Linked DNA regions of Homo sapiens: all the other regions are linked to region 1. The links are contacts of gene promoters, found by promoter capture Hi-C in blood cells and fetal thymus (Javierre and others, 2016). All regions are on one chromosome and are shown on one strand. Each heading gives the region's core, a stretch centred on a gene start or on the middle of the fragment in contact. The rest is flanking DNA. Distances are from core to core; before and after follow the strand shown. Region 1 holds the start of ADAMTS12 (ADAM metallopeptidase with thrombospondin type 1 motif 12). Region 2 overlaps TARS1-DT (TARS1 divergent transcript). Region 3 overlaps TARS1 (threonyl-tRNA synthetase 1). Region 4 has its middle 46 kb from the start of TARS1. Region 5 has its middle 63 kb from the start of TARS1. Region 6 overlaps ADAMTS12 (ADAM metallopeptidase with thrombospondin type 1 motif 12). Region 7 overlaps ADAMTS12 (ADAM metallopeptidase with thrombospondin type 1 motif 12).

The links. The method cuts DNA at HindIII sites, captures the fragments that hold promoters and counts their contacts. A CHiCAGO score of 5 or more calls a contact.
Region 2: a fragment that was not itself captured here is called in contact with the fragment with the promoter of ADAMTS12 in region 1 in 4 of 17 cell types (naive CD8 T cells, activated CD4 T cells, total CD4 T cells and 1 more); the score reaches 8.3 in naive CD8 T cells.
Region 3: a contact is called between a fragment that was not itself captured here and the fragment with the promoter of ADAMTS12 in region 1, in 1 of 17 cell types (naive CD8 T cells). The highest score is 5.3, in naive CD8 T cells.
Region 4: a fragment that was not itself captured here is called in contact with the fragment with the promoter of ADAMTS12 in region 1 in 2 of 17 cell types (naive CD4 T cells and total CD8 T cells); the score reaches 5.5 in naive CD4 T cells.
Region 5: a fragment that was not itself captured here is called in contact with the fragment with the promoter of ADAMTS12 in region 1 in 1 of 17 cell types (endothelial precursors); the score reaches 5.3 in endothelial precursors.
Region 6: a contact is called between a fragment that was not itself captured here and the fragment with the promoter of ADAMTS12 in region 1, in 3 of 17 cell types (total CD4 T cells, endothelial precursors and fetal thymus). The highest score is 5.9, in total CD4 T cells.
Region 7: a contact is called between a fragment that was not itself captured here and the fragment with the promoter of ADAMTS12 in region 1, in 1 of 17 cell types (endothelial precursors). The highest score is 5.3, in endothelial precursors.

What each region holds. Positions count from the first base shown.
Region 1 is chr5:33,889,765-33,894,080 of GRCh38, reverse strand. ADAMTS12 (ADAM metallopeptidase with thrombospondin type 1 motif 12) reads left to right here and starts at 2,091. Exons shown (of 24, transcript NM_030955.4): 1 at 2,091-2,351. The coding sequence starts at 2,225. RefSeq lists enhancers at 1,808-2,307, 2,308-2,809. The HindIII fragment of the contact is 2,849 bases long and covers 1,224-4,072 here.
Region 2 is chr5:33,430,193-33,434,508 of GRCh38, reverse strand. The region is part of intron 1 of TARS1-DT (TARS1 divergent transcript); the gene reads left to right. Among named protein-coding and RNA genes, the nearest start is that of TARS1-DT, 8.3 kb to the left of the region's middle. The HindIII fragment of the contact is 1,725 bases long and covers 1,151-2,875 here.
Region 3 is chr5:33,464,161-33,468,476 of GRCh38, reverse strand. TARS1 (threonyl-tRNA synthetase 1) reads right to left here. Exons shown (of 19, transcript NM_152295.5): 18 at 1,492-1,606; 19 at 391-917. The coding sequence ends at 769. Among named protein-coding and RNA genes, the nearest start is that of TARS1, 25 kb to the right of the region's middle. The HindIII fragment of the contact is 2,178 bases long and covers 939-3,116 here.
Region 4 is chr5:33,484,516-33,488,831 of GRCh38, reverse strand. No RefSeq gene overlaps it. Among named protein-coding and RNA genes, the nearest start is that of TARS1, 46 kb to the right of the region's middle. RefSeq lists an enhancer at 1-446. The HindIII fragment of the contact is 156 bases long and covers 1,829-1,984 here.
Region 5 is chr5:33,502,305-33,506,620 of GRCh38, reverse strand. It overlaps the pseudogene TOMM40P3. Among named protein-coding and RNA genes, the nearest start is that of TARS1, 63 kb to the right of the region's middle. The HindIII fragment of the contact is 5,698 bases long and covers 1-4,316 here.
Region 6 is chr5:33,521,769-33,526,084 of GRCh38, reverse strand. It overlaps ADAMTS12 (ADAM metallopeptidase with thrombospondin type 1 motif 12), which reads left to right. Exons shown (of 24, transcript NM_030955.4): 24 at 1-2,550. It overlaps LOC105374717 (a long non-coding RNA gene), which reads left to right and starts at 3,525. Exons shown (of 3, transcript XR_925906.2): 1 at 3,525-3,658. The HindIII fragment of the contact is 3,340 bases long and covers 282-3,621 here.
Region 7 is chr5:33,620,365-33,624,680 of GRCh38, reverse strand. It overlaps ADAMTS12 (ADAM metallopeptidase with thrombospondin type 1 motif 12), which reads left to right. Exons shown (of 24, transcript NM_030955.4): 14 at 330-450. Among named protein-coding and RNA genes, the nearest start is that of TARS1, 180 kb to the right of the region's middle. The HindIII fragment of the contact is 192 bases long and covers 1,709-1,900 here.

The DNA.
Region 1 (4,316 bases), core at 842-3,341:
ATAAGGGAAATGCCATTAGAGTTGAAGAGGCTAAACTGTGAAGCCAGAGTGTTCAGTGTATCATCCCTGATATTGGTGGAACTCAGCAGTTCTCCAGAGTTCTTCAGGTTTCTGCCTGAGAGACAAATCTCTTCTCCAGGACCTGGGAGCTAGGAGTGATCTTGCCCTTTGGACAAGATCTTGCTTGCTATTAAAAGGAGCAGCAGGAGAAAAAAAGGTGGAAGAAGAAGAGTGACAGAAGAGTACAAGGAGGAGAGAGAAACAAGGAAAGGGTGAAGGGAAGCAAAGAAGAAGGGGAAGAGGAAGAAAAGAAAAGAAGCAAAAAGAATTCTAGCCCAAAGTTGTTCTTCAATGCCCTTGCAAATGCAGGTCATCATGCCTGTGTTATCTGAATGTCTTTTAACTCCAGTTGTGATCCTGCTTCCTAATGTTTACGTAACAGAAAAAAGGCTCAGAGTAGTTCTTTTACTTGCTTGTGACAACAAAACATGTTCTGTTACACGTAAAGGGGATTTAAGGTTGCAGATGGAATTAAGGTTGCTAATCAGCTGATTAGGAGAGTGTCCTGGTTAACCAGGATGAGTCTAATGTAATCGCAAGGGTCCTTATAAGTGGAAAAGGGAGGAAGAAGAGTGATGTGATGTGAGAAAGACTCAAAGGGCCATTGCTAGCTTTGATGGGGGAAGAGGGCCATGAGCTGAGGAATTCAGGCAGCCTCTAGAAGTTGGAAAAGGCAAGACAACAGATTCTCCCCTAGAGTCTTCAGAAATGAATGCAGCTGTGCTAACTCCTTGATTTTAGCCCAGTGAGACCAGTTTCAGATCAGAACTGTCACATAAGAAATTTGAGTTGTTTCAAGCCACTGAATTTATGGTAACTTGTAACACCAAAAATAGGAAACTAGCATATACCTCTCAAAGTCTTGGTGCCCATGTGTTCCACATCTGAGAGGACCACCTTGCTTTCAGACCACTGAGTTTGCCTTGGAGGCTCTGTCCCTATACAAGGTTGAGTAAGCTGGTATCCCAGAACTCTTGATTAACACATGTGGTTGGCTGGCAGCCAGGGAAAAGTCAATATTGGGGGCCGAATTCTTCCTGAATGGAGTAAGGAGGCCTGTTTCAGCTCAGAGGTGAAAAATCTTGGCTGGATTAGCCCAGTAAATTCTCAAGATGCCTGGCAAGCGTCCTGGATTGTGGCATTCTCTGACCGATGTAAAAGCTTGAGCCTCTGAATGAATGGACGCCCTCTCCAGGGTAGCCAGTTCAGGGAAACTGGGGAGATACCTTAACACCTTCCTGGGTTGACTTAATTCCTGGTTTCCTTTTGAGTGAATGGAGGTGGGCTAGGAAAGATGGGGTTCTAGAATCAGAAGAGCCGCACAGAGATCTGCAGACTCAGAGGGGCCCACAGGCATTTGCAGCAGTCACCTCATTGCACAGCTGAGGGGGCTTGTCTGAGGTCACATTAGCAGATTAGCGCAGCCCATTTCCCTTTGTGTGACTTGGCAAAGAGAAAAATCGCCTATTAGTTTTTCCAGTGGAAGAGAATCCCAGAGCGGTCCGAGTGGGTGAGGAGTCTTGATAGAGCGATGTTGGGAAAAGTTCAGGAACTTGGAGGAGAACAGCAGGGGAGGGGGCAGCGCTGAGCGCGGAAGGATGGAGGGAGTGGGGCCCCCCTCTGCCTCAACTCTGTTCTCCTCATTTTGAGCTTGTATTTAAGCACGCCGGGGGGCTGGCCTGGGGGCCTCTCACTCGCAGCTTCCTCCAGTGCCTCCCAGGGCGGCTCTCCCGGGTCTCCCCTATTTGGCCGGCTCGGCCAGCTGGGCCTGGCGTTCGGGGCGGGGCCGGAGGAGCGCGGGGGTGGGAGTCCGGGAGGAAGATGCACCGAGCGGGCGGGCTGCGAGGCCGCGGGGCATGCGGGAGGCGGAGGGGTGGGGACCGGGGTGGGCTGCGCCCTCCCGCTCTGGCCCATTCCACACCCCGCCGAAAGCGGACACTGTCAGCTGAATCACTCCCCTTTTAGGAGGAGGGAGGGGAAAAAGGTGTCTAGCTCCTTTCTGCTTAAAAAAGCACAGGGAGATCGCGGGCAGCTTTGCAGTCGCTGCCTTCTCGCGCCTGACCATGCACCCCTGCATCTTCCTGCTGGGCCACAGGCGAGCGCTTTATTTCTGGAGCTGAGGGCTAAAACTTTTTTGACTTTTCTTCTCCTCAACATCTGAATCATGCCATGTGCCCAGAGGAGCTGGCTTGCAAACCTTTCCGTGGTGGCTCAGCTCCTTAACTTTGGGGCGCTTTGCTATGGGAGACAGCCTCAGCCAGGCCCGGTTCGCTTCCCGGACAGGAGGCAAGGTTAGTGACTCTTCTTTATTTCTTTTTAAAACAGTGGTGGTAAGACTTGCGGGAATTTTGTTGCTCCCCTTTCCCTTCCCCCACCCGGCAGAACTGAACTCTGAAAAGCCATTTGGCTGCGTTGTAAGGAAATCTGGGCTGGGACCTCAGGAGCCTAGGCTTTCTCAGAATTCAGTGCTTAAGGTGATGAGTCCTTCATTCTTATAGAAAGGTGAGTACCTCACTCTTTTACAGGGATGACACTGCAGTCTTTGAAAGACCCAAGAGGTAGCTGGTAACTTTTTCTCTTTTGTCTCCTCTTTGAATGCTGTACTGTTTTGATCCCCTATTTTTCAGACTCTAAACATGGAAAATTTTTTTTTTAAGTGCTAACTGGCTACTGGCCGTCATTGCAGTGTTTCTAGTTAGTTTTAAACCTCTGGTCAGGAAAGGGGAAATGTGATTCTTCCCCCCTACTGAGCAGGCTTGGCTGTGTTTTGGTTTCCTGGAAAGATTTAGGGTTGTATTTTTGAAAGAATAGTCCTTTTGGGGGAACTATACCTCCATAAGGGCTCACTTTTTCCTGTCCTGTCTCACTGACCACAGCTGGCTGCTTCTCTTTATGAATTTCTGAACTCATGTTATTGTAGGAAGCATTGGAAGCGTTCTGGTGGACAATTTGTTGTTGTTGTTTTATTCTTTTAAGCCTAACAGTCAGCAGTTTATTGGACTTGGAAGGGTCAGAGGCACCTTCATGTTTGGTGGGGGGTTCATTGTACCTCTGGGGGTAAACAGTCCTAGCAGCAGCAATGGCCCGCGTGGCACTCTGTGTCAGCCCATCCGATCACTGGCAATAGCCTTCCAGGGTGCAGGTACCAGTGTTGCTGTCCCTGCTGTACAGATGAGGATGCTGCAGCTTGGAGAGCTTATGAGGCCAGCTAATGTAGAGCAGAGTTTTCAGCTCAGGTAGTCTGACTCTTAGAATCATGCAGCACTGTCCTGTAGCAATAATAGGGACACACACGCACACACACACGCATATGCACCCACACGCATGCACACGCACACAGAGCACTGGGTTAGCATGCACTAAGTCCTGTGTTTGCTGACTGTGCTGAAGCCTCGGGAAGTGTCCTCCATGACTTTCTGACATCCCTTTAATTCCCAAGGCCACTCGGGTGATAAACATCACCAGCCTGTCCTTGTTTAGGATTTCTAAGCAGGGTTTTCTGCTCATGTTGTAAAATTCAAATATTGCTGGACAACTCATCTGCTGTGGCTTCAAGACGTATCAGAAGCAAGTCCCTCTCTTTGCTTTACTTGGAAAGCTGGAGCCAGCAAACACTGGGGTTAGATGTCAGTCAGCCAGCACTCACTTGTGTAAACGGTCCAGATACAATCTCCCACCCCCAAGTTTAAAATAGCAGGGCTTGTTGTTCTTTGAAAAACAGTTCCTTTGTGAAAAGTCTCCCTTCTGGGGCAGCACAAACAAAGCCTGCAAGCACTTCCCAGGGCATTTGGAGATGATTTCGTTCAAAGACACACATTCTCCTGGGTTGGTTTTCAGCTCTGCTCCACATCTTCTTTGTAAGGGAATTCAGCTTGGTGTGAAGCAGACACCACGGGGCCATGGTTTTTGCTCTCTGGAAAGTGAGATATGATTATTTTCCCTAGTCACCTCTATCTAGAGCTATGTGCTGAGAGTATCCACTGTTCAAAAAACCTATAAAGTGCTCCAAGCTTATTGGTGATATATATATTTATTTAGGTTTAAAAATAATTAGAGGTTTTTGTTTTTCGAGGCTGAGTCTTGCTCTGTCTCTCAGGCTGGAGTGCGGTGGTGCAATCTCAGCTCACTGCAACCTCTGCCTCCCGGGTTCAAGTGATTCTCCTGCCTCAGCCAACCAAGTACCTGGGATTACAGACGTGTGCCACCATGCCCGGCTAATTTTTGTATTTTTAGTACAGACGAGGTTTCACCATGTT
Region 2 (4,316 bases), core at 764-3,263, 460 kb after region 1:
TTATGTTTTTTGTTACTTTTTTTTCCACTCCCCCAACTTTTCCTTATATATGTATCATATATAAAGAATACTAGGAGTGGCTAACTTTTTACTTCTCGTGAGGGAATATGATTGAATCAAGATCACTCCATGATGATACACATTCTGAAGGGACTTCATGTGTCCCTTGTGTTGGAGGCACACACTTTTCATGTGGATGAAAAGCTATAGAGGATGTTGAAGGGGAAAAGGTGTGGCCTGTACCAATGGACTGCTGGGCCATTGGCCTCCAGTTGCTTCCAGCCAGTGAGACCCTCAGCAGGAGTTGGGAGGGAAGAAAACAAAATCAGGACATGTATACCCCTGGCTCTTCCCAGGAGGAGGTTGCCTTGTGCTGCTGATGTTTCACAACCAAAGGTCACTGCTGATCTCATAGCAATAACTACAGAACACTTCCCTTCTAGGTTCCAGCAAATGCTGGCTACCCTCACCCTGCCTGGCCTACATGTGGTTACAGATTTCCCACAATTACTATTTGTAGGATCCTGACTCCCTATACTTCTCATCTGTTTTAAATAAACCCTCTTTAAATTACTCTAACCCGAGTGTGCCCTCTGTTCTCTGTTGGAGCCCCGTGTGATATAATCATGTTCCTCAGCTATAAAATGGTGATAGAAGTAATAAACCTGATTCCAGAACTTGTTGGGAGGATAAAATGAAAGTACAAGTATACAAAGTACTTTGCAAATTCTAAAGGGCTATAAAAGTTAATTATGTTTGGGGAAATGAATGCTCTAGCCGGTTACCCTCTCTGGTTTACTCTAGATTTATTTGGAACCATTATGGATAATATTCCTCAATTTGTTTTCATTTTTGTCATATCTCTTCTTTGCTGAGAGCTTTTGCTATGATTTAACTGTGTCCCCTAAAGTTCATGTGTTGAAAACTGAATCCCCAATACAACTGTTGGGGTGTGGAGCCTAGTAAGAGGTGATTATGTCGTGACAGCTCTGCCATCATGATTGGAGTGATGTCATTATCTTGGGAGTGGGTTAGTTATTGTGAGAGTGGGCATGCTATAAAAGTGAGTTTGGCCCCCTCTTGCTCTTTTGCTCTCTTGAGCTCTCTTGCCCTTCTGCTTTCCACCATAGGATGATGCAGCAAGAAAGCTTTCCCTGGGTATAGGCCCCTTGACCTTGGATTTGCCAGCCTCCAGAATTTAAGAAATAAGTTCATTCTCTTTGTAAATCTCCTAGCTGTGGTATTCTGTTATAGCAATACAAAATGGACTAAGACAGATTTAAAATAGCTTTGAGAGGCCTAGCGTATGAGGAATACATTCTGGATAGCTTTTAGGAGGTTCTGAACCTCATCTCCAAAGGGCATGCTTTCCTCCAAAGTAAGTTGTAAATGTGTAGAATTGTGCATTTGCCTTTGGCGTCCCTCCCTTCTCATTTCTTTGCAGAGTATCTGTGCCATTCCCTGAAGGTATCTGAGCACCTCACACTTTTCTTCATCCTTCCTACCTCTATTAAAAACAGTTTCCAGGAAAGGCTGTGAGTTCATTTTTACTAAATAAATGGCTGCTGGACTTTGATATGTGGCCTTACCCGGATATCAAAAGCATTGTCTGAAGCAGGATTTTTCACAAACTCAGCACTATTGACATTTTGGGGCTAAATAATTATTTGTTGAGGGAAGCCACTGTTCTGTGTACTATAGGTGCTTAGCAGGATCCTTGACCTCTACCCACTGAATATCAATAGCACTCTTCTCCCAGTTGTCATGACCAAAACTGCTTTCAGACATTGCCAAATGTCCTATGGGGGCAAAATTACTTACAGTTAGGAATACTGGTCTAAAAAAATGAAAATTCTTCTGTACAATCTTTTGGGCCTCATCAAATAAAAAAAAAATGCATATAAGGGCAGTAACTGGAAGGTCTTTCTAAAAATACGGAACTTGAGTGCTTGCTGGTAAAGAATCACTTGGTTCTCTGAGTTGTATAGTCTGATAGTTTTTCCTCCAAACAAATCTGCACATATCCATGTTGTTTCTGAGTACTTCCCACCCAATGATTCAATTATGGTGATGTGATTATGAATAAAAACATTTTTTCAAGTCCTGTTTCTTATAGCAATATATGAGTAATTTGTGTATACATAAAAAATATTCTGAATATTAGCCAAAGTTCTTCAGAGAAACAAAATCATCTATCTACTATCTATCTATCTGCCATCTATTTATCTACCTACCTACCTACCTATCTGAAGAGAGAGAAAGAGGGGAGGAGAGAGAGAGAGAGACAGACACAGAGACAGAGAAAGAGACAGAGAGAGATTTCTTAGAAGGAATTGGCTCACAAGATTATAGAGGCTAAGAAGTCCCAAGTTCTGCAATTGGAAAGCTGGAGACCCAGGAGAGCCCATGGTAAAAGTTCCAGTCCAAAAGCCAGCAGGCTCAAGATCCAAGAAGTGCCCATTTTTCAGTCAAGTTTGAAGGCACAATGTTCCAGCTCAAGCAATCAGGCAGGAGGAGTTCCCTATTACTCAGCCTTTTTGTTCTACCCAGGTCTTTAATTGTTGGATGAGGCCCACCTGCATTAAGGAAGGCACTCTTTACTCAGTCCACCCATTCAAATGTTCATCTCATCCAGAAAATCTCACAGATACAAGCAGAATAATGCTTAACCAAATGTCTGGGCATCCCTGGTCCAGTCAAGTTGACATGTAAATTAATCATCATATCTTCCCATTGACCTGTTGGACTATTTTAAATTATCTCTCAAGAACTGAGTTTGGGAATGTTGATACCAATATTTCAATCTGAGACACTATGCTAGTTCAAGGATATACATAGCCAGCTGAATTTTTCAGTGAGAAGCAGCTTGGAAGCTTAATAAAATTGGAGTCCTCTGCTGGTACAACCTACTTGGGAGCCAACAAGACCATGGTGCCACATTCATGCTTTCCCCTAGCCATCATAAGCCCCTATTTCTAGCAATCAGATAGAAGAAAACAGAAATCCAATTCATAAGATACAATAGTTACAGTAAATGCTAAACAGAGGTAGAAGAGAGGCTCCAAAATACAATGACAGTAAACTAGATGATTACTTATTTTTCTGTTACAGCTATGTAGGGCCCCAAGTTCCTTTTATCTTTTTGCTCTAGTGCAGTGGTTGGTAAACTTTTTCTGAAAACACTAGATAGCAAATATTTAAGGCTTGCAGCCCAACACGGTCTTTGTTGCAATTACTTAAGTTCTCTGTCATTGTGGTGCAGAGGCAGCTATATATACTTTGTAAACAAATGGACATAGCTGTGTTCCAATAAAACTTTATTTACAAAACCAAGTGGCTGCTCTATGGGTGATAGCTTGTTAACCCTTTCTCTAGAGGGTTCTCATCTGCATGGTTGTACTTGGGTTGCTGGCATTTCTGCATTTCAATTTGCAAAAAAAAGAGTGGAATTGCTTATTCCAAGTGTTTTAAGGCCCAGACCCAGAAGTGGCACATAGTTACTTCTACTCATATCTCACTGGTCCAAACTGAGTTGCATAGCTTCTAGGGAGGCTGAGGAATCTGGTCTCTAGCTAAAGAGTCATGTACCTCACTTAATTTCTGTTATTGAGGGGAAGAAAATATTTTGGTGGAAAATTAGTAACTACTGCCACATGACACCACCACTTGGGGGTAATTCTGCAAATTACATGATTCTCTCTCTCTATCTTTTTTTTAAATGTAATTTTATTTTAAGTTCTGGGATACATGTGCAGGAGTGCAGGTTTGTTACATAGGTAAACACGTGCCATGGTGGTTTGCTGAACCTATCAACCCATCACTTAGGTATTAAGCCCCACATGCATTAGCTATTTATCTTGATGCTCTCCCTCCATACCCCCCGCCCCGACAGACCCCAGTGTGTGTTGTTCCCCTCCCTGTGTCCATGTGTTCTCATTGTTTGACTCACACTTATAAGCGAGAACATGTGGTGTTTGGTTTTCTGTCCTTGCATTAGTTTGCTGAGAATAATGGCTTCCAGCTTCATCCATGTCCCTGCAGAGGATGTGATTTCATTCCTTTTTATGGCTGCATAGTACTCCATGGTGTATATGCACCACATTTTCTTTATCCAGTCTATCATTGATGGGCATTTGGGTTGATTCAATGTCTCTGCTATTGTGAATAGTGCTGCAATGAACATATGCATGCATCTATCTTTATAATGGAATTATTTATATTCCTTTTGGTATATACCTGGTAATGGGATTGCTGGGTCAAATGGTATTTCCGGTTCTAAGTCTTTGAGGAATCGTCACACTGTCTTCCACGATGGT
Region 3 (4,316 bases), core at 778-3,277, 430 kb after region 1:
CCCTTATGAGAAAATAGGGAATTTGTAAACCAAGTGATTCTATGGTCCAGAACAGTCTGCCATAAACAGATATTTCTCTGAAGATTCACGTTTTATCTTAAACATTTGTGCAAATCTACTCTGTAATAGATCCATGGTAGTTTTTGTTTGAAAAGGTGTCCATCCAACATTAAGTAAAAATGACACTCCCAAAAGTGTTTATCCTCTGAGAAGCCAGCACCCAGCTCACACCCAGTTTATGAATAGCATTATGATGCTGCAGACCTACCCCGTCTCCATCCACCCTGCATTATATTTGCTGTAAAACTGTAAAGATAAATACTGAACCACATTATCTGTCTCAGGCATGTATGTGTACATGTGAGGGACAGAGCAGTCTTGAAACTTATGTGAATAAATTTTTTTTTTATTTTTACACCATAATCCAATTCTAGTTATCTTAATTGAATTTGAAAACTTTTTCAATTGCATTAAATTTACAAAAAAGTTCTCCCACATTACACTAAAGCATTCCTCATGTTTCACTTCCAGTACTCAGATACTGAATGAGTAAAATCATTTTATTGGCTCTCTTTTAATTAACTCCTTCAAATGCACATTGTTTAAAAACTGACTAGGTCAAAAATAGTTACGCCTGCAGGTTGACCTATTCAGACTTTGCCAAACTCCTCCAAGTTCAATATAAATTGACGTTTTCAGAGTACAAAGTCAATTTTACGGAAACGCTGTTCCTCCTTTTCCATGGAGCCAATCTGGGTAATTTTTTCATTAAAATTCTTCTTCTGCCTGTTTGCTGCGGAACTCTTTGAGCTGCTGTAGCCGCTCGATAGTTTCAGAAATGGTGCGTTCCCCGTGGACCTTATTGTCTCTTGTGCGGATATTAACAGTGCCACTGATTTTCTCTTTTTCACCAACAACTAAAACAAACACACAAAGCTTTGTCAGACTTAATCTAAAGATATGGAAGAATTCACACTGAACATCTGAAAAGAAATGATCCTAGGACCCAAAACCTACCCCATAGCTTCTGATACATTAAAAGGTACAAGTGACCATGTGTTGATATTTAAAAGAAACTCTTTGCAATATCTAAAACTACTGTGCTTATGGAGTCAATCTAGACAACGTAACAACCAAATAATAAAACCCCAAACATCATGAATATCTTTTTTCAAGTAATCCCACATAAGGCATTATCTTGAGAAAGTAATCCAATAGATGTGTTTAAAAGCAATGCGTCTTCATTCTTGTTATAATAGCAAAATATTTTCTCACAGACATCCATGATTTAAGTGAAAAAAAAAAAAACCCAGTATGTATGCATGAGCCTATTTTTATAGTTATTATATATTAAAATATATAATAGAAAAAAAATCAGGACTGGAAGGAACTAAATAAATTCTTGATTACAATTCACTTAAACCTGTCTCAAGGTTTCAGTAGATTTTCCTGAGGTGTGGCAAATTTTCTTTGGTAAGTTTCCATTCTTACCTAAAATGAAGTTATACTGTGCTAACTGTGCATTTCGAATCTTTTTATTCAATGTACAGCCTGGATCCAGATCAATGTCTGCCATGAATTTGGCATCGTGGAATTGTTGTCGTACCTATTGTAACAGAGATACAGAATTTGTCAGATCTAAAATCAGAATTATATTTTGATCTCACATGATTTTACTGAACACAGGGATCAGGACTTCTTGGATGAACTTCCAGGAATTTAAAGCTGGCAAAACTGTCTTAGATAATATTATTCACTGCCATTATTCCCCCCTCAAAAAGGCCAGCTCCTCTTTATTACCTCAGGTCATGTGTATTAAGTAAACAATGTTTTCAGTATTCTTTTCCAAAAAAGCAATAAACTAGATTACAATTTATTAATTTTACATTAACTAGATTAAACTTCCCATTAACCTGATAACATATTAACATGACAAAAAGACCTAAATGAACAATTTTATTTCACTATCATTTCATATGAACCTCAGATTACAGATGTGAAAAATATCACACGATCAACACCTGAAAGAAATGATCTTCAACTGAATAAATCTTAACTTCTGAGTATCAGAAAGTTTTTTTTTTTAATCAGGTTATCAGAGGCATTAGTCCCTTAACTTTAAAATAGAATAATATTTAATAGTCTAAAAGTAATTTAGATTAGAACAAATTAACAATGAGTATAAAAAATGTTTCTGTTCAGCCTGCTATGAGAGTTGGGCATTTTACATTCAAATCACCCCACACGTGGCAGAAAACTGTTTCCTTACAGTGGCCATTAACCCAAAGGAAGAACAGGAAAGTTGGAGGACGCTGGTGTTCCTTCCTCATCTCTGCCATAGAGACAGTACCATTGGGCTTTCACGCAAAGCCATGTGAGCAGTGACGGCCTATCCTCTTTTTGTAGACGCAGAAGTTACACTGTCTACTAGCAGAATCACCATCACAATTCCACCCAGACCTCTTAGAAGGGTCAGAGTTTCTGGAAATCCTGGTCAGAAAGCAGAATGAATTTTTCCAGGAAAACATCTTAAGTACAGCTGAAGGTGAAATAGTAACTATCATACTCTACTTAAGTATCATGAGTAAAACCAGCAATCTCTGGTTGACCTGGGTGACGAAATATTTCTTTCAATTTTTGATTGAAAAAGATTCTAAATGATCTACAACACATTCATTTCTCAAATGCGAGTTATGTGTAAACCAAGGGTTATTTATGTATGTCAAATGTTTATTTCTATAAGGCATACTTTTTGAAACAATCTAAGTGACTTTGCCTATACTGTGCACAAGTCTTAGCATTTTAACTAGATTTTTAAGCCACAGTGATCACGAACCAATTAACCTGTTGACATTTTATTACACCCATTTCAGAAGGGTTGTTACAGAATTTTAGAATGCCAAGATAGGTCTACATCTTCAACTTATAACTACTTTAAAGAATAAGGCATCAGTTTCTTCATTTTTCTCAACATGGGTCCTGTGTGTGCACGTGAGATGGGCAATTCTGCAGTTGGGGAAGTGGCCTGATAATTACAGGGTGTTTAACATGTCTGCTCTATAGTTATTAGGTATCAGGAGTACTGCCCTGTCTTCTCTCCCCGCAAAAGAAAAGCTTACCACCACATAATCTGGAATGCCACCTACCCGCAAAGGGAAATGGGGAAGTCAGTGCTGTCTCCAGTTGAGAACTCAGTTAACCAATACAGAACTTCTTCCTACTGTGTGAGTTTTCACATACAAATAAGACAAAGTGCACTCAACCATGGAACATAACTTTGATTGTCATCATTTGTAACTAAAACTACTGAGTGCAGTAACAGGAATAGTCTGAATGGTTTATCTATTAGATGGTTTAGTGTTCACTTCATTTTTTTTATTTATTTATTTGTTTTTATTTATTTATTTTTTTGAGATGGAGTCTTGCTCTGTCACCCAGGCTGGAGTGCAGTGGCATGATCTTGGCTCACTGCAAGCTCCGCCTCCTGGGTTCATTCCATTCTCCTGCCTCAGCCTCCTGAGTAGCTGGGACTACAGGTGCCCGCCACTGCGCCCAGCTAATTTTTTGTATTTTTTAGTAGAGACGGGGTTTCACCATGGTCTTGATCTCCTGACCTCGTGATCCACCCGCCTCGGCCTCCCAAAGTGCTGGGATTACAGGCGTGAGCCACCACGCCTGGCCCACTTCAGTTTTTTTTTAAGAGATGGGGTCTCACTATGTTGCTCAGGCTGGAATGCAGTGGCTACTCACAAGCACAATCATCACACCCTGAACCCTCAAAGATCCTCCTGCCTCAAGCTCCTAAGTAGCTGGGACTACAGGTATGCATCTCCATGCTCAAGTTCATTTATTTCTTAAGGGTAATTAAGAACTGAGTGTGGTTTATTCTGATGGTCTGAAGACATGATGGTTTTGATGTTACAGTATTGTTCACTCATCAACTTTTAATAATTTGAAATTCCTTAGTATGGAATTTTCACTATGGCAGAACAATGCTTTAAAGTGAAGTTATGAATGGCTATACATTTGTTGGTAAGTTAGTTTTTTTGGTAGAGAGGCAAGACATTGGTCTGCTATACTATTAACCTGAAAAAATTTCAACTACCTGAAGAAATTTACATTAAAATGAAGCAAAATTACTCACTGAGTCAAAGAGCAGCCTAAACTGTATTTTGAACGGGAATTTACCTACCATACTGAAGTACCTGATATCTGCTAATCTGGTTTTTTAAAATACTAAATACTAAAATATACAAGTGTAACTGGGTATGGTGGCTCCTGCCTGTAGTCACTGCTACTCGGGAGGCCAAGGTGGG
Region 4 (4,316 bases), core at 657-3,156, 410 kb after region 1:
GCAGAAGCAGGTTGCGGCATGACCCGTCCAGCTGCAGGCTGAGAACGGAACCCATGGTGAGTGCGGGATCCGGGCTGGAGCACAAGCCAAGCACAGCCCACTGAGTCGAGTAGGCGGGGTACCTCCAGCAGCAAGCCCAGAGCCCAGCAAGGCCCAGGCAAGGGTGTCGCTGGCTGTGGAGGTCCCTGGCTGGCGAAGCAGCACCAAAAATTCCTGCATCGATCTTATTTAATTCTTTCACCATATCTACTTGTGTAAGTACAGTGATCAAGGGAGTGCTAACAAGACAAACGTGGGCAGGTTATTTAATGATATTTTCCTCTAGTAAAAGGGGATTAATAATAGTTCTGGCCTCAGGATTGTTGTGAGAGCTCGAAAACTTCATACGCACAAAGTGCTTAAAACAGACCTGGGATGTACTAAGTATTCAATAAATGATCCCAGGAAGAGAATCTTATTTTTCCCAATTTACAAACGAAGTTCCTGAGGCACAAGGAGGGCAAATAATTTACCCAAGTAAAGATTAAAACTCACCCAGATTATAGGCTTTTATCTACAGTCTTCCCTCCTGCACTTCCCAAGCAGGGAGAAATTAATGGATAAATCGAAGCTAGGCATGGTGGCTTGCACCTGTAATTCCAGCTACTCAGGAGGCTGAGGTGGGAGACTCTTGAGTGCAAGAGTTTGAGGCCAGCCTGAGCAATATAGTGAGACCCCATCTATTAACCATAAAAGTGGGCAGATAAAGTGGAAGAAATGTTAGACAAAGACTTGATAGGTTTTCCAGAGTTACTGCATACAAAAAAAAAAAACGAATCTTTTTTTTTTTTTTTTTAATACAGGGTCTGGCTCTGTCGCCCAGACTGAAGTGCAATGTCCTGATCTGGGCTCACTACAACCTCTGCCTCCCAGGCTCAAGCAGTCCTCCCACCTCAGCCTCCTGAGTAGGTGATACCACAGACATGTGCCACCACACCCAGCCAATTTTTGTATTTTTGGTAGAAATGGGGATTTGCCATGTTGCCCAGGCTGGTCTCAAACTCCTGAGCTGAAGCAATTCACCTGCCTTGGCTTCCCAGTGTTGGGATTACAGGCATGAACCACCACACCAAGCCCAAATCACTTTTTTTATTTTTCTCAAAACATAAAGATTCTTGAGGAAGTCAGAGTAAGAAAACATTCTTATTTCCATCGACCTGAAATAACCAAAAGGATCAGAATTCAGTTTTAATGAGTTTATTTGAGTAAAACGCTGGAAGTTACCATCCAGGAAACACAGACTCCAGAGAAATGGGGTCAATGCTCTCAAGTTACGATCTTGCTTATATAGGCAGAACACAAAGAAATTTAGTGGGATTATAACATTCTCTAAATAAGGCTGGCTTATGAACTATACCAATTTAATGAGTTACAATGTGTTTTCTGTACAGCCTGTTTTCTTTTCTTTACAGCTTGTTTACATTTTCTTTCCAATTAAAAGAGTGTATTTGACATTCCATCCTAAACAGTGTGATAGGAAGTCTGTGTGACACAGTGAAGAGGAAAATTGGGGAATTAATAGGCCCAGTGCTCAGAAAACGGTTAGTAAATGACTGTTTGGGAATGTGAAGGGTGGAACTGCACAGAAACAAAGATTGTCTTATTATCCAGATAAGGTTCCCCAGGCAATCTCTAGGACTTCTCTAAGAAGAATAGATGAAAAGTCTGTCTGGGAGTAATGAGGACTCCTAGTCTCTTCTCTTCTCTGGGTGGTTGATCTTGCCTGGTTATTTGATGAGATTTTTAGGGAGGGGTCTTAAGACAACTGCATGTCATTTGGAAAGAAGCTTTCTTAGTCAGATAAGGAAATTCCAGAGAGAATCTCCACTTGAGAGGGGGACAAGGCAAGTTTAGAAAGGCTTTGATTATAAGGCAGCTCCTAAGGCTTCTTAGCATGTCAGAGTGCCAGTCTTTCAGGTATTGCTTTCTGAGCCCCAACAAAGCTTACGTGTCATTCAAGAGTAAGCAGCAATTTTTTACAGCCTAAACAACAACAAAATCTTTTTTAGGGAGAGGTATTTTATCACTAACATTTTCAGAATTGCCAGTGTATGGTTGGGTTTTATTATGGTTTTAAAATTCTTTATGGAAAATGTACCTAATTATTGCCTGCACCAAGAGCAGACCATTTCCACTGCCTCGGTCTTTCTTAACTGGTATATGGTCAAATACACAAAGGTCCTTCTTTTAGAATGATACATGTTGAAGTATTTAAGCATGAAGTTTCACAATGTCTACAACTTAATCTCCAATGGCTAAGACACACACACACACACACACACACACACACACACACACACAGCACATAGAAATTGATAGGGAAAATACAGACACTTCTCACCATATGATAGGAATGAGTCCCAATAAACCCACCCGAAATCAAAAATGCATTTAATGCACAGCCCTTTCAACATCATAGCTTACCCTAGCCTCCCCTAAACACTTATATTAGCCTATGGTCAGGCAAAATAACCTAACGCAAAGCCTATTTTAAAATAAAGTGTTATTCATTTATTAGAATCGCAGAGTACAAAAATAAATATAAAAATAATATTAAATAAAGTATTGCTGGGTTCAGTGGCTCTCATGCCTGTTATCCCAGCTACTCAGGAGGCTGAGGCAGTTCAAGGAGTTCAAGGCTGCCATGCACCAAGATTGTGCCACTGCACTCCAGCCTGGATGACAGAGCAGAGTTCTAATAGAACTTCAGGACCAGGCCTGATACTATGTCCTGCAGAAATGCCTCTGCAGGGAACAGAGGTGGAGAAATTGTAGGTTCAGTATTTTAAATGGACACCTGTAACCCAACTCCCAAACCTCATCCTCTTCAAAGTCTACATATAAGTAAGTTGAGAGTCTACCGTGAATTGAGATAGTCACATTACTTACTGCTCTCAGTAATGTCTGCCTCACTATGGAGCCAAGTTAGATTAGGAGAGTTTTACTAGAAGGAAATCGGAGAGCACACACACACACACCCCCGCAGACACACACAGCCCTTCACGCTCATCTTGGTTTTCTTTTACCTCTCTGCCTTTGGCAGGAAAAGCTTCAATAACACCTCCTGTTTTGTTGTTGTTGGTTTTTTTTTTTTTTTTTTTTTTTTTTTTTTTGAGACAGAGTCTCGTTCTGTCCTCAGGCTGGAGTGCAGCGGCATGATCTTGGCCTCACTGCAACCTCCATCTCCTGGGTTCAAACAATTCTCATGTCTCAGCCACCTGAGTAGCTGGGATTACAGGCACGCGCCACCACGCCCAGCTAATTTTTTTTTTGCATTTTTAGTAGAGACAGAGTTTTGCCATGTTGGCCAGGCTGGTCTCGAACTCCTGGCCTCAAGTGATCCACCCACCTTGGCCTCCCAAAGTGCTGGCAATTACAGGAGTGAGCCACTGGGCCCAGCCACACCTCCTGTTTTTAACCCACACTGCTTTTGATGAGACAATTCAGGAAATCCATACATTTACCTCTTTGTCTGCTTTATCATAAGGGGGATATTTCCCAAGTCCTGAAGTTTTTATTTAAGTCATGAGAATAAAATAGCATTGAAAATATTTTATTATCTTCCCATTAAACATGTTACTTAAAAGAAAAAACTTTCTAGAAATAAAGACTTATTAAGAGTCAAGTCGCCCTTCTAAATGACATATGCAGGAGGCTGGAGAGCTAGGTCAAGGATCTCTTTCAATTGCATTTGATCAATTACTTTCTTTGTTCTGCTAGCTGCAAGTAATTGTCCATACTAGCCATTTGGTTAGAATGTCTTTACAGAACAAATGGCACTCTTTCATATATTCTTTTCCTTATGTTCTATTTGAAGACTATAATCAATTCTAAGCAACAACGACCTTTGTAAATTCAGGCCTCCTCTCAACCCCTGAGCTAGGCCTGGGACCCCACTTCTGATTCTTTGAATTTGCTGGTAACTTCCATTAGTCCTGAATGACATAAACCACTACAGCCCACCTCAATTCTATCCCATGCCCTAATCTACTTCATCTCTTTTGCCCCAGACTAGTTTTCACAGCTTCCTGTTCATTTGTTCATTCCACCCTGGGTCTCTAGGAGACGAAAGAAATCTACCTGATCTTACCTCTTTCCCTCTTTCCCTCTACAACATGCTATGAACAGGGGCCTTGGAGTCCCAAAACCTGAGTGCAAAATTTTAACACTTATTAGTTACTTCACTAGTATAATAATAATACTGTCCTTGTAGAGTTATTGTGAGGGTTAAATTAGTTAATACATCTAAAGCATGTAAAATAGTGCTATTCAAAGGA
Region 5 (4,316 bases), core at 913-3,412, 390 kb after region 1:
TAATTTCTCTAATTTGATAGATTTGGAAATAAGAAAGTCTTTGTTCTTCCTTCAAAAAATTAATACTAAAAAATTTTGAATTTCTAAGATTCAATTTTGTGCCATTAATTTTAAAAATGTATGAAGCTGATGTTTTGTGATTAAACTTTTAAGATTCAAATCCAAGGCAATAAGTGAATTTTAAAAATAACACAAGTGAAGGAGTAATAATCTTCAGGAAGCTGAGAGTTGTAGTCTGTAATTCAGGGATCTTGATTCAGTATTCATGTCAAATCTAACCAGAAAGACAGGCCTATATGAAACCTAAACTGAGTTTAAGCAAGGGTGAAGGCCGGGTGCAGTGCCTCATGCCTGTAATCTCAACATTTTGGTAGGCTGAGGCAGGAAGATAACTTGAGCTCAGGAGTTCAAGACCAGATTGGGCAACAAAGTGAGATCCCCATCTCTACAAAAAATTAAGAAAATTAGCCAGGCATAGTGGCTTATGCCTGTGGTCCCAGCTGTTCTGGAGGCTGAGGTGGGAGGATTGCTTAAGCCTAGGAAATCAAGGCTGCAGTGAGCCGTGATCACACCACTGTACTCCAGCCTGGGTGACAGAGCAAGATCCTGTCTCAGAAAAATAAATATAAATAAATAAAATAATTAATTAATTAAAATAAATTAACTGGAGGAAGGTGAGTAATAAAATCTTGCAACTTTGTTCAGTTAAAACAAAGGGAAAGAATTTCCTGGCATCATGCCACAAAAATTTGATTCAGCATTTTAAAAATTTACCCCTACATCTCCTTTTGTATCTATCAACTATAAAGTGGGCTTTTTTAAAAAAAAGAATATTATATTTTCTAAAGTATTTTTCTAAAATAATTTGGTTCTCAAAAAATGCTACAGCCTATTTATGCCATATGTGCTTTTTCCCCCAACATCAGAATAGAGGCCGGCTGTATAGAGAGGTTCCTGGTACCGAGAAGAAAGAAAAAAATGAAAGGATTGTCTCAGCTATCAATGGGTTGAAAGAAGACTTCTGTTTTAATAAAGTTGAAATTACATCTTATAATGAGTTTTTTTTCTTTTTTACTGGTCAGTCACATGAAAGGTATCATGTTCTGTTTAGTATACTACATTTTCAAAACAATATTAATAAAGAAAACTTTTTTTTTTTTTTGAGACAGAGTCTCACTCTGTCACCCAGGCTGGAGTGCAGTGGCACAATCTCAGCTCACTGCAACCTCTGCCTTCTGGGTTCAAGCAATTATCATGCCTCAGCCTCCCAAGTAGCTGGGATTACAGGCAAGTACCACCACGCCCGGCTAATTTTTTGTGTTTTTAGTAGAGATGGGGGTCTCACCATGTTGGCCGGGCTGGTCTCGAACTCCTGACCTCAGGTGATGTGAGCACCTCAGCCTCCTAAAGTGCTGAGATTACAGGCATGAACCACCGTGCCCAGCCAAGAAAACTTTAGAGAAGCATTCACCAAAGTGAATACTGGCGAACATAACACTGCAAACCTTCCCCCCCAAAAACAAGATTCCCAGGGTCAAATAGGATTAGAATACCCTGAATTCTCAGTACTCTTCCTACAGTTTCACACTGCACTTACCATATTAAAGGCTCTGGGAAGTCCTAAAAATATGGAAACTTTTTTCATTTAGCTTAGCACGTTATTTTCCAATTTTTTTTTCTTTTTCTTTGTCATAGCAACAATTGTCATTCTGCTCAATCTGATTTTGAAGAACATCACTTTAGGAAACACTAATCCAGAAAAGGACCAGAATGCTGACAATGTCTGTGTTTTATTGGTCACACAGGCCAACCCTCATACAACGTGGGAGGAGACTAGTAAAGGGTATGAATACCAAGCGGGTGGGGATTGCAGGGAGTCCTCTTGGAGGCTGGCTACCACATCACATTTTGAATAATTCTGGCAAAAAAAATGATTATCATCAGCTCATACTAAAACTCTTCCTGCTTTATACTTTTGCTAGATTCCATTCCAAAACTTGAATTGCTATCTTTGGCAAGTAATACAAAATATCACATGCTACATAATAGGTTTGATAGTTTTCAGTATGGACGACAGAGCCAAGCAGGTAGAAAAATTCAGCAGAGGGCCATGCAAAGTGGCTCACACTTGTAATCCTAGCACTTTGGGAGGCCAAGGCGGGTGGATCACTTGAGATCAGGAGTTCAAGACCAGCCTGGCCAACATGGTGAAACCCCGTCTTTACTAAAAAGACAAAAATTAGCTGGGTCTCATGGCATGTGTCTGCAATCCCAGCTACTCGGGAGGCTGAGGCAGGAGAATTGCTTGAACCCGGGAGGCAGAGGTTGCAGTGAACCGAGATCGCGCCATTGCACTCCAGCCTGGGGGACAAGAGACAAACTCCATCTCAAAAAAAAAAAGAAGAAAAAGAAAAATTCAGCATATTCTTTGTATTTTGTGGCTTTGTTAGGCAAAGACTATATATCCACACAAAAGACTCTTTGTGGTAGCATGATCAAACACTGAAATAGATGGCCTGAACATCCTGATATTTTTTTGGAGTGACTGATCAAAGGGAAGATAATGGCTTTCACTGAGCCCAACTTGGCAGGAACTGTTGGCCTCTGGCCTTCTCATTCCTGTACTCTAGCCACGTTGTCTCCTTTTATAAACTGAGTCCCAGCATCATGCATGATCAGTCCTGCCCCATGCTGGGAGTGGAAGAGGAGCTCCGAAGACAGTGTGCCCAGGGTCAAGCTCTATGCTTGGTGCTGGTGTCCAGTTTCTTGTTTCCTGTTGGCCTGGGCCTTCAGCTCTGTCTTTCAACTGTCCTGGAATTCTGGTGCCAGGGTCTGACCTCACTGATGTGGACTTGCTGCCTTGACCCACAAAACCTCCATTCCATGCTGACTGTCAACCCTGTTCCACACTCTCTGAACTAACTGGCTTTCTTGGACGTGACCTGTGTCCTGCCTCATTTTTTTTGTTTGTTTTCTTTTTCCACATATATATATATTATTTTTCTGTAAAATCTCCCAGTTCTTCCATAACTTATAAACATGATTTATACCGAGGGGTAGATGGGAAAGTGGACAGGGGCAGGGCAGACTGACCGGGGATGGGGAAGCTCCTCTCGCTGCCCCCTTGGAGCAGGCCCAGGCCCTTTGGAGGATGGGGACTCCAGGACATTCCTCCCTGAGGTTGTCTGGCTGCCTCTACCACTGGTGCTCAGAATCCTGTGTGCCACTCAATTCCAGAATCCCTTCTGGGACTGACCCCAGGGCCACTAGACACGCTGCCCCTGGTACTCAGAATCCCGAAGCGCCAGCTGGTTCCATAATCCCCTTCTCAGCCGCTAGGGTGGTGGGGTCCCTCCTTTCTGCTGTCCGCCTGACCCCAGAGGAGGAAGGGAAGGGAGGGGGAGGGGGCCCCAGGTCTCCTCTCTGTGGCAGGAGGAGGGTGGAAATAGAATCTGAAGTAGGAAGGGCGTGGAAGGGTCAGGAGGGTTCAGCTGATGGTGAGGCCAAAGCCACTCCGTAACTTGTTCTTGCGGTGATTCAGGAAGGCCCCAAGGGCCAGTGTCAAAGGCAGGGGCGGGAGCTTCTTCTCCAGCGTGGCACCCACAATCCAGTTGCTGTCCACAGAGCCTTTGAAGAGGAGGTTGGCCTTGGGCAGGTCCAGCTGGTACCCAAAGGAGACATTGGTGTCCTGCATCCTTGTACTGGCCTCAAACTCCACATCCACCTGCAGTTGGTCACTGGGTTTGTGGTGTTATGTCCAACCCAACGTTACCGTTGCCAACCAGTTGTTCAATGTGTATTTCCCAGCTACAGACATGACAGTGCCCTCCTCCCCAGGCCGTCGGTGGTAGACCAGCTCACTGCCCAGGGCCAAGCAAGGCGTGATGCTCTTGAGGTAATGGGCTACGAGGATTCCTGAACCCATCAAGACGTCTGGGTTCCACAGGGTGACGTCCACTGTGAAGTCAGAGCCCCGGTACTCCCCATCCACCTGCCACTTCACAAACTTTGACTGCTGGGTCTGGATGGCCATCTTGGACCTGAGGCCGGGGCTCAGCTGGTGAATGACCTGAGCATTGAGGCTGCCACTGTTGTCCATGTCACCCACCAGTACAGGGAATGCCTCTGTGGGACTCAGCTGCTTTGTCCCCATATACTTGACACCAAAATGGTGGTTGGACTCCCTGATTGTGCTGAGGGTTACTGTGTGGTTCACCTGAAAATGCTTACACAACGCTTTGTTCTCTGTGAACTTGACACCTTCCATCTACAGCTCCTTGCACTTCCGGTGGCACTCCTCGAATGTGCAGGGGTTG
Region 6 (4,316 bases), core at 702-3,201, 370 kb after region 1:
AAAAGTAAGGTAAAGGGGATCTACTCCTCAGTGTACCCAATATGTAGTTAGTCTTAAAGATCTTTTACTTTGGGGAGAACAGGTGAATCAGGGAGTCCAAAGAAACTGAAATGAAAGTTAGAATGCTTGTTCTGGATGTTCCTACCTCCCACCAGAAGTCAAAGTAGGCTTGGTCTCAAATTCAGAGCAAATTTCTAGACAAAGTGATTTCTAAGGGAAGGTACTTACATGAACTGAACCCAGAGAAAGAGGGTAAGTGGGTGGGTGGAGGGGCATAAGCTTCAAATGAAAGAAGATATCAGAACCAATTCTTGACAGGGAGAAAGGCAAGGATGTGGCCTTCATGTGATGGGCAGCATATTTTCTGACTCATGCACAGATACACTTAATACTCCTCATGGAACACAATATCCCACGTCTCCCTTTACCTATCCGTTCAGCAGAATGGTGCTATTAAAAAAATGGTGCTAATATCTAGATGGTGGCAGAATTAATGTAAACATAGATAGGCATACAAATGGGTAAGTGTATGTGAAACTCTCCATATACATCTTCTGTTAAACATGTAACGGTGTTGCTGACCAATGCCAGTTTTATTGCTTGGGTACCTTGAATTTAAGATTTAATATTATGTGCTTTTTATTTTTTTCCAAGCCATTAACGTGTATTACTCTCATGAATTCCTGTGAAAAATAAAACAGTGGGATTGGGATGAAATTCAAGATAGACCAGAAACAGGAGGAAAGTACAAATGTTTACCTAAAGCCAGAGAATTTATTTCTAGATGATAATTACATTATTGTATTCTCTGCCTTTAAACATAAACATTGCTGGCCGATAGCAATCTCTGGTGAATAATGGTTTTCGAGGAGAGGAGACACTTAAATTGTTAGTGACATGAGTGGAGGAGAATCTGATATTTACTAATGAGGCAGTTTGCAAAGACTGTCCCTGAAGTGTAGTGTAGTCTTTCAGGGGGATTCATTTAGTAAGCTAGATTGATTTAACCTGGTACTGTACTAGCATAGGGTCAAATACGTGTCATCAGAGACCTGGGTATGACCAGGCTTACAAAACTCAGGAACAAACTCAGATTCCTACTGACCTCAACCAACTAAACTAGGCCAAATTTCTCCGTGTACAAAATGGACCACGTTATTTACAATCCACGTGGTGGAGAAGATGGTAGACATGTGGAGAGAGTTTGGCCAGGTGCTCCATTCTAGGTCTTTTTCCAGTTTCTCAAAGGCAGAACATTGGCTCCTAATTATTTGCCATGGATATTTGCTTCCTGTTCTGGAGCTATGTTGTAAGACAGCTGTGTGATGTCCATCATTCTTGACTCCAGAATGAAGACAGGGCTTGCTGTTTTCTGTCCTGTTGGTATCATCTGTTGCCTTGGCGATCACTCAGTGATGAGTCGTCAGTATTTTGACATGTCCCAGTGCTTGCTGTACAAGAGGGGACTCAGATCAACAGGAAGACTCTGAAGACAGGAACCTGCATGGTATCTTACATCTTTGATACTTGGGTGCTGATATGAAGCAGAGTTGTTGATTTACTTTATCTAGGCCCTTCTTTCTTCTCACCTGGATCAAGCAACTGAGAAGTGTATCAGGAGACACTGGATACATATCTCTATGAAATAGAGAGGGCCATCGCAGGGCCTGGTACTTAACTACATTAACGTTCTAAAACCCAGTTTGGTTTACGTTGTCTTTCACAGTAGTATATTTAGCTCTTCTCTGGAAAGTTGTGGGTTAATATAATTCTTAAACATGAAAATGTAATTAAACACACCACGAGAGAACAATATTCCAGGAGACTTAATAGTGATTACTTTCTTCAATCAGGAAATCGTTTCAGTGCCTCCTTTGTAGGAATGCTTTGTTTTGTGATGGGTTTTCTTAAAGAAGAGCACACCTCCGTCCAATCTCCTGAGACAGCCACGTCTCCGCTGACATCCCACTGTGATGCTTTCAGATAGTCAGTGAATGTTTCTGATAACCTTCATCCAGTATCTGAAACACAATGTGAGAGATTATATTGTTTTAGATAATAACATCCCATTTAGTTGACTAAAATCTTCCAAACTCTGAAAGCTGCACACTGCTACTCCAGAGAGTGCAGGTCTTAGCTCTTCTCCTTTCTGACTTCAAGATGAATCTTTGGGACGATGTTTCTGGTGCTTGGTCCACAGTGATTCACTTTTGAAGGAGAGGCCACATGACATGAACTGCCTGGTGTTACAACCTAGCTAACATATTTGATGCTACTCCTGTTGTCTGTACTGCTTATTCAAGTAGTATTCTAAGTTATGTTACTAAAAAACATGGTGGGTAAAGCACAATCCTACCCATCATTGTCCTCCAAAATAATTGTATGACATACACGGCCCAGCCCATTGCCCTCCCTGCATCTCTGTGCTGCTTTGCCATTTCCCCTTCTACCCAGCCTCCTCAAGGGGTACCTTGGTGGATATTTCAGTACTTAAAACCAGACTGTAATCATAACCTCCCTCTGTGTGGCATCAATAAATAGCCAAACTCATTGATGTTTCTGTGTGATTCTTTTACCCCTGCTGTGAGACTCCCACCACCCACCAGTGTTACTATGGATTTTAGCAACCTGGGAAAGGATGCTGTCAATTTCTTCCTCCCACACTCATTCCAGATTCCCTCCTACCCTACCCCTAGACCAGTACATCATCAGATGAGTCACATCCCAGGTAAGCCGGTCTCTTCTCATGAATGTGCAACAACTGCCACACTCCACCATATGATAATCTGAAGTGATGCCTAAAATTCCCCAAAACACTGAATTCAACATATTCATGCTGCTCACAGCAGAACCTACTCCTTCATCTATCCAAAGTGTAGGCCTAATGCTTAAGAGAAAATGACCCATCTCTAGGGGAATTTGCTTTGGGAATTCAATCCTTATTCAAAGATGGGTGTACAGCTCAGTAAATGCAACTAGCAAAAGCAGAATTTGTACATATAGTGATAGAGTCTACTCACATGGAATAAACAAAACCATAGAGGTAGGGAAGAGCCAGGCCTCTCCAGGTGATCCCTAGGATGTTTGAGGGCATGAATAGGAATAGTAGGAAATGTAGTTTTGGTCAAGAAGGCATCACAGAGAGCCATGGATACCTCCCTGATTATACCTTACAAATTATTCTATCTGTGACTATGAGATCTTTCTAATACTGCAAAGCCCAGCTCAAATGCTACTTCCCCTGGGACACCTACCCTGACGCTGCCAGAAAGACAGGGTCCATTTTCCGTTATACTCTGCTCCCACTATACTGGGTACATTTTCCACTAGAAAAGTAGCTCTTAATTGAGAGTGATTTTTGTTCCGCAGGGGATCTTTGACAATGTCTGGAGACATTTTTGATTTTCACAACTGGGCAGTGGGGGAGGGAGGGAGTGCTACTGGCATCTAGTGAACAGAGGCCCAGAATGTTGCTGAACATTCTGTGGGACGACATTCCCTCAACAACAAAGAATTGTCTGGCTCATAATGTCAATAGTTCCAAAGTTGAAAAACCCTGCACTAAAACAATTATCACCTTGTAGTGAGTAGCAGGGGATCTTGGTTGAGTAAAACCAAGCTTTCACTAAAATTCAGACTTCTCGAAAGGACTGATGAGGTAGGTCAGAAAACCTCAAAAGGACTAAAAAATACATCAGGGTTCAAAGCACACCAGCTTGATTAAAGAATCTTGATGTTGAAGGGGATACAGGATAATGAGCACAGCTCAAAAGAGTCTTAAACCAGCCCCTGGGGACAAAGGTGTTTCGATCCTAGAACTGAGGCAATAAATCAAAAGCAAGCAAAATGGAAAACTGGTGTGTTAGTTTGGATTAATCATCCTCCTCTAATTGAGATTTCTAATCAAACTGAGAATACACATAATCAGCCAGATCAAAATATCGGCTTCAGTAGTGGTGAAGCTGGCTTGGAGAGCATGTCTTGGGTGCAAATGGAAAAAGGGTTTTCCTACCCTTCACATCTGCATCCCCCCATGGCAAGTAGCTGGAGATCTGCAGGCCTCCCTCCAGTGGTTCTCTGAACTCCAGGCTTCAAGCTCAAGAGAGATGGGAATGCAGTAGAAAGAAACAGAGAGAAATGGACCACTCAACCTATTAACCTCAGTTAATAGGAGTCTCATGGCCATCAAACTTTCACCAACAGAAGCACCCTCTCCTGCCCTGGGAGGAGCATGTAAAAGGGTTATCATAAAGACCCCAAAGGGATATCTCAATACTATCCACTCTGGAAGTGGAGGATTCATGCCCCTATGGGAA
Region 7 (4,316 bases), core at 555-3,054, 270 kb after region 1:
TTGCTGCTCTACCAGCTTCAACTCCAAGATGTTTTCATAGTTAGATTTTTGGAACATTTGCATAGATTTTGTTCAGTTCTGCCTCTGACTCGGGAAATTAGAGACCTCACTCAATGTGTGCCTCCCTCCTCTCTGAGCAAGTAGTGCCTTTACCATTGGTGGATGCTTGGATATTCCTCTTGCTGCCACCAGGAACAAACATTTGTCCTTGTACCTGGTACCTCCTGCCCAGTCTTATGAAGCACCAAAGGGGAAAGAAGAAGTCACAGATCCAGGCAAGAGTGGCATCCCCTGCCTGGGCATTCATCCTCCACCTCTCTTCCCCACAGATGGTTGGCTGTGACTATGAGATCGATTCCAATGCCACCGAGGATCGCTGCGGTGTGTGCCTGGGAGATGGCTCTTCCTGCCAGACTGTGAGAAAGATGTTTAAGCAGAAGGAAGGATCTGGTAATAAACAAATAAATAATCGAAGTGGCAGGGGACCAAAGGTGGGGGGCAAGATAAATGGTTGATTGGTTCCTAGTTTTTGTTTTTATTTCTTTAAACAGTCTGTGATTTTCAAAGTATTCAAAATGGAATATAGCCTTTACCACAAAGGAGGAAGGGTTCTTCGGCAGTTGTAGGAAACGGGTTGATTGCTGACAAAATACAGGATGCATCACAGTGAGATAGAGATCTGAAATGGCCCTGTGGTTGTGCACAGGAACAGGTATAAGAGTGTGATCTCTGGGAGAGGATCCCCTTTGGGAACAAGCATCACAAGAGGATCCAGCATTAAAGCCAATGGCATTGGAACAGACCAAGAACTAGGGGAGAGAAGAGATCAGAAGCTGGCCGAGAAGGCTGCAGACACAAGGACAGATTCTGTAGTGAGGACAGAAGCCAGCAATGGGTTTACAGGCAAAAGAATTGGGGTGCACCTTCAATTCAAAGTCAAAAGAGAAGCAAGGCAGGGTTGCATCAAATCTCGTTTATTCCCAATTGCTCCCTGGGAGGGGGTCCCACCCACTGGTCCCTTATGAATTTCCAGACAGCTCCTCCACCTAGCATCCCCTTCTTACCCACGCTTTACTATTCTTTTCCCATAGTCACCTTTTGCAGAGTTTCTTCTCTGTGCAGCTTTGGGCTATGGATAGTCCTCAGGGCATGAAGAGTTCACCTTCAAGGGTGGACCCCAAGGAAGAGTCAGTTCCCAAGGAAGGCAGCTAAGAAAGGGTGAACCATTATATGGGAACCATGGCAGATCTTGCACCTCTGAGTTTCCCCGACCTGAGGGGTGAAGGAATTGAGATAATATACACCACTTTCCACCAGTCATGGGTTGAGGTTACTCTAGGGAGATCGGACTGTTAATTCTCTGGATTCCATAGAGATGCTGGGAGTAGGGAATCCATCATGCACTATTGCAGTAGGGCCTGAGGGGAGAGGGGCAGTGTCTGCTACACAGGGTTGATGCCCAGGACAGGAAGTGATAGCCACTTTGAGAGATGGTAAAGCCCTGTTTTCCTGGATCCTGGAAAAATAATATCTCTCTTCTAAACATGCTTCCTACCCAGGATGAAGTTACTGAGTAGGATCCTGAGAGGATCAAGTATGTTCTTCAGTTAATTACATGACCTATTGTTCCCTAGTAATCATAACAGCAAACAGTCTAAATTTAATTTCCATCCCTATTTTTCATCTTTGACTATTGGATTACTAAGCTTAAGTTGTGAGATGTAATGCTTGTCCTGCCCATGAGAATTACCACTGGAAGACTGTATTTCATGTCTTTGATTGATAGCTTTATTATGGATGAAAAATACTCTCTGAATTACTTATTTGGAATGTGAATGATAACCGGTATGTCTTAGGCTTATGATTAAGCACCCTATGATAGCCAATGTTTTTACAAGCTTTACAAAGGTGTTTTGTAAATATTTTTCATTATTTATAGTGGCTTTACTTACTTATAAAAAGTTACACTTAAAATCGTATTTCTGCATTTAACCTGTTTTTTCGTTTTTGTTTCTGTTTTTGTTTTTTTGAGACGGAGTCTCGCCCTGTCGCCAGGGTGGAGTGCAGTGCTGCAATCTCAGCTCACTGCAACCTCTGCTGCTGGGTTCAAGCAATTCTTCTGCCTCAGCCTCCCGAGTAGCTGGGACTACAGGTGCACGCCAGCACACCCAGATAATTTTTGTATTTTTAGTAGAGACGGAGTTTCACCATATTGGCCAGGATGGTCTTGATCTCTTGACCTCGTGATCCACCCACCTCAGCTTCCCAAAGTGCTGGGATTACAGGCATGAGCCACTGGGACCAGCTAACCTGTTTTATTTAATTTTCTTTATGAGTTCCTATCTTGGCCTCTGAGGTGCTGTTCTTCTAATATTATGATAACTCAATTGAAAACCAGAGTTGTTGTCCCCAGGTCTCTTCCACTTAACCTTGTAATCCCTTAGGAAATCCAACTCTAATTCTGGGTTCTTTCCTCTGCCCTGGTCTCTTGGGAATGAGAAAGAGGGATTATAAATGTCTTCTGCTCCCCTGTTACCCCTACCCCTTCCTGCCTCCAAGATCTCAATACCTCTAGCCACATGCCCACCACTGAGCATTTGACATCTCCCTGTGCCTTTGTGTTTTCCATTCTCTTTCTCCCATGTCCCCTTCCTACAATTCCTTTCCACCAGCTTCTAACAAGAGGGTCATGGTTGCTCGCAGTGTGTTACAAGATTCCAATTATCTCACAACCCTCTTTTGAGATAACTGAGACTAAGAGTCTTAATCTAAGGCAAGGCATTTTAACTTCTCAAAACATATACCAGGTACTGTTATTTTTATATATTTCTTCCTCACTCTGTGGTTTGTGAGCCTGTCAAACACTGGTTTGTATCTGAACCAGACACCTATGTGTCACTGCTCTCAAGCCTGGGATCAGACATGGACCAGCATTTCCCAGGAGCCTCCACACATCAATCATGAGATATTGGCCTGCAGTGAGCATTGTCTCAAATGGACAGCATAAATCTTTAAAAAGACAAGCTGACCACTGTAGATAAGTTGCCCAGGGTTAATGGTATAACCTCTTTATGAGCACATTTTTATTAGAAATGTCAAAGACTGGAGACCAAATATGCCAGTGAGTAAAGTCCGTTTTTGTGGACCACAAAAACAGTTGGATAAGATGTGTGTTAGCATCAATAATGTATGATGTCTCTTATCAGAATCTCAGAAATGAGGGCCTATCTTTTGCCGCATCCTCAAACATCCTGAATATTCTTTTTTTTTTTTTTTTTTTTGAGATGGAGTCTTGCTGTGTCACCCAGGCTGGAGTGCAGTGGTATGATCTAGGCTCACTGCAATCTCTGCCTCCTGGGTTCAAGCAATTCTCCTGCCTCAGCCTCCCTGGTAGCTGGGATTACAGGTGCGTGACACCACGCCTGGCTAATTTTTGTATTTTTTTAGTAGAAATGGAGTTTCACCATATTGGCCAGGCTGGTCTCAAACTCCTGACCTCATGATCCACCCATCTCGGCCTCCCAAAATGCTGGGATTACAGGCATCCTGAGTATTCTTTCAGCTCAATGTGCTCAAGACTGGGATAGTGATGGAATAGTTTCTCCAGGTGGTCTCCTTGGACCCAGAGACTTCTTGTTTGAGGTCAAAATTATGTTCCTCCTCTTCCCCTTATACTGGTGCAAGCAGCTAATGCTTCCACTGGCGAAGATGCAAGAAAATTGATTTGCTAAGCAAATATAGTCATCATTCTTAATACAGTTGACCCTTGAATAACACGGGGTCGAACCAAATGAGTCCACTTAGTATGAGGATGTTTTTCAATAAATACATTGAAAAATGTTTTGGAGATTTTTGTGACAATTTGAGAAAACTCACAGATGAACTGTGTAGCCTAGACACATCAGAAAAATTAAGAAAAAGGTATGCCATGAGTGCATAAAATATATGTAGATATTAGTCTTTTTTATCATTTACTACCATAAAATATACACAAATCTATTATAAAAAGTTAAAAATCTATTAAAACTTATGAACACAAACACTTACAGGCCACACATGGCACCATTTGCAGTTGAGAGAAGTGTAAACAAACCAAAGATGCAGTATTAAATCATAACTGCATAAAAGTGACTGTAGTAATACTGTACTACCAGAATAATTTCATAGCCACCTCCTCTTGCTATTGTGGTGAGCTCAAGTGTTGCAAATATCTGTTTAAAACGCTGTGTGATGCTAATCATTTCCATGTGAGGATATTTGTCCAGTAAATTGTGTATCACAGTAAAAAGTGATCTCCTGCAATTCTTGAATATTTT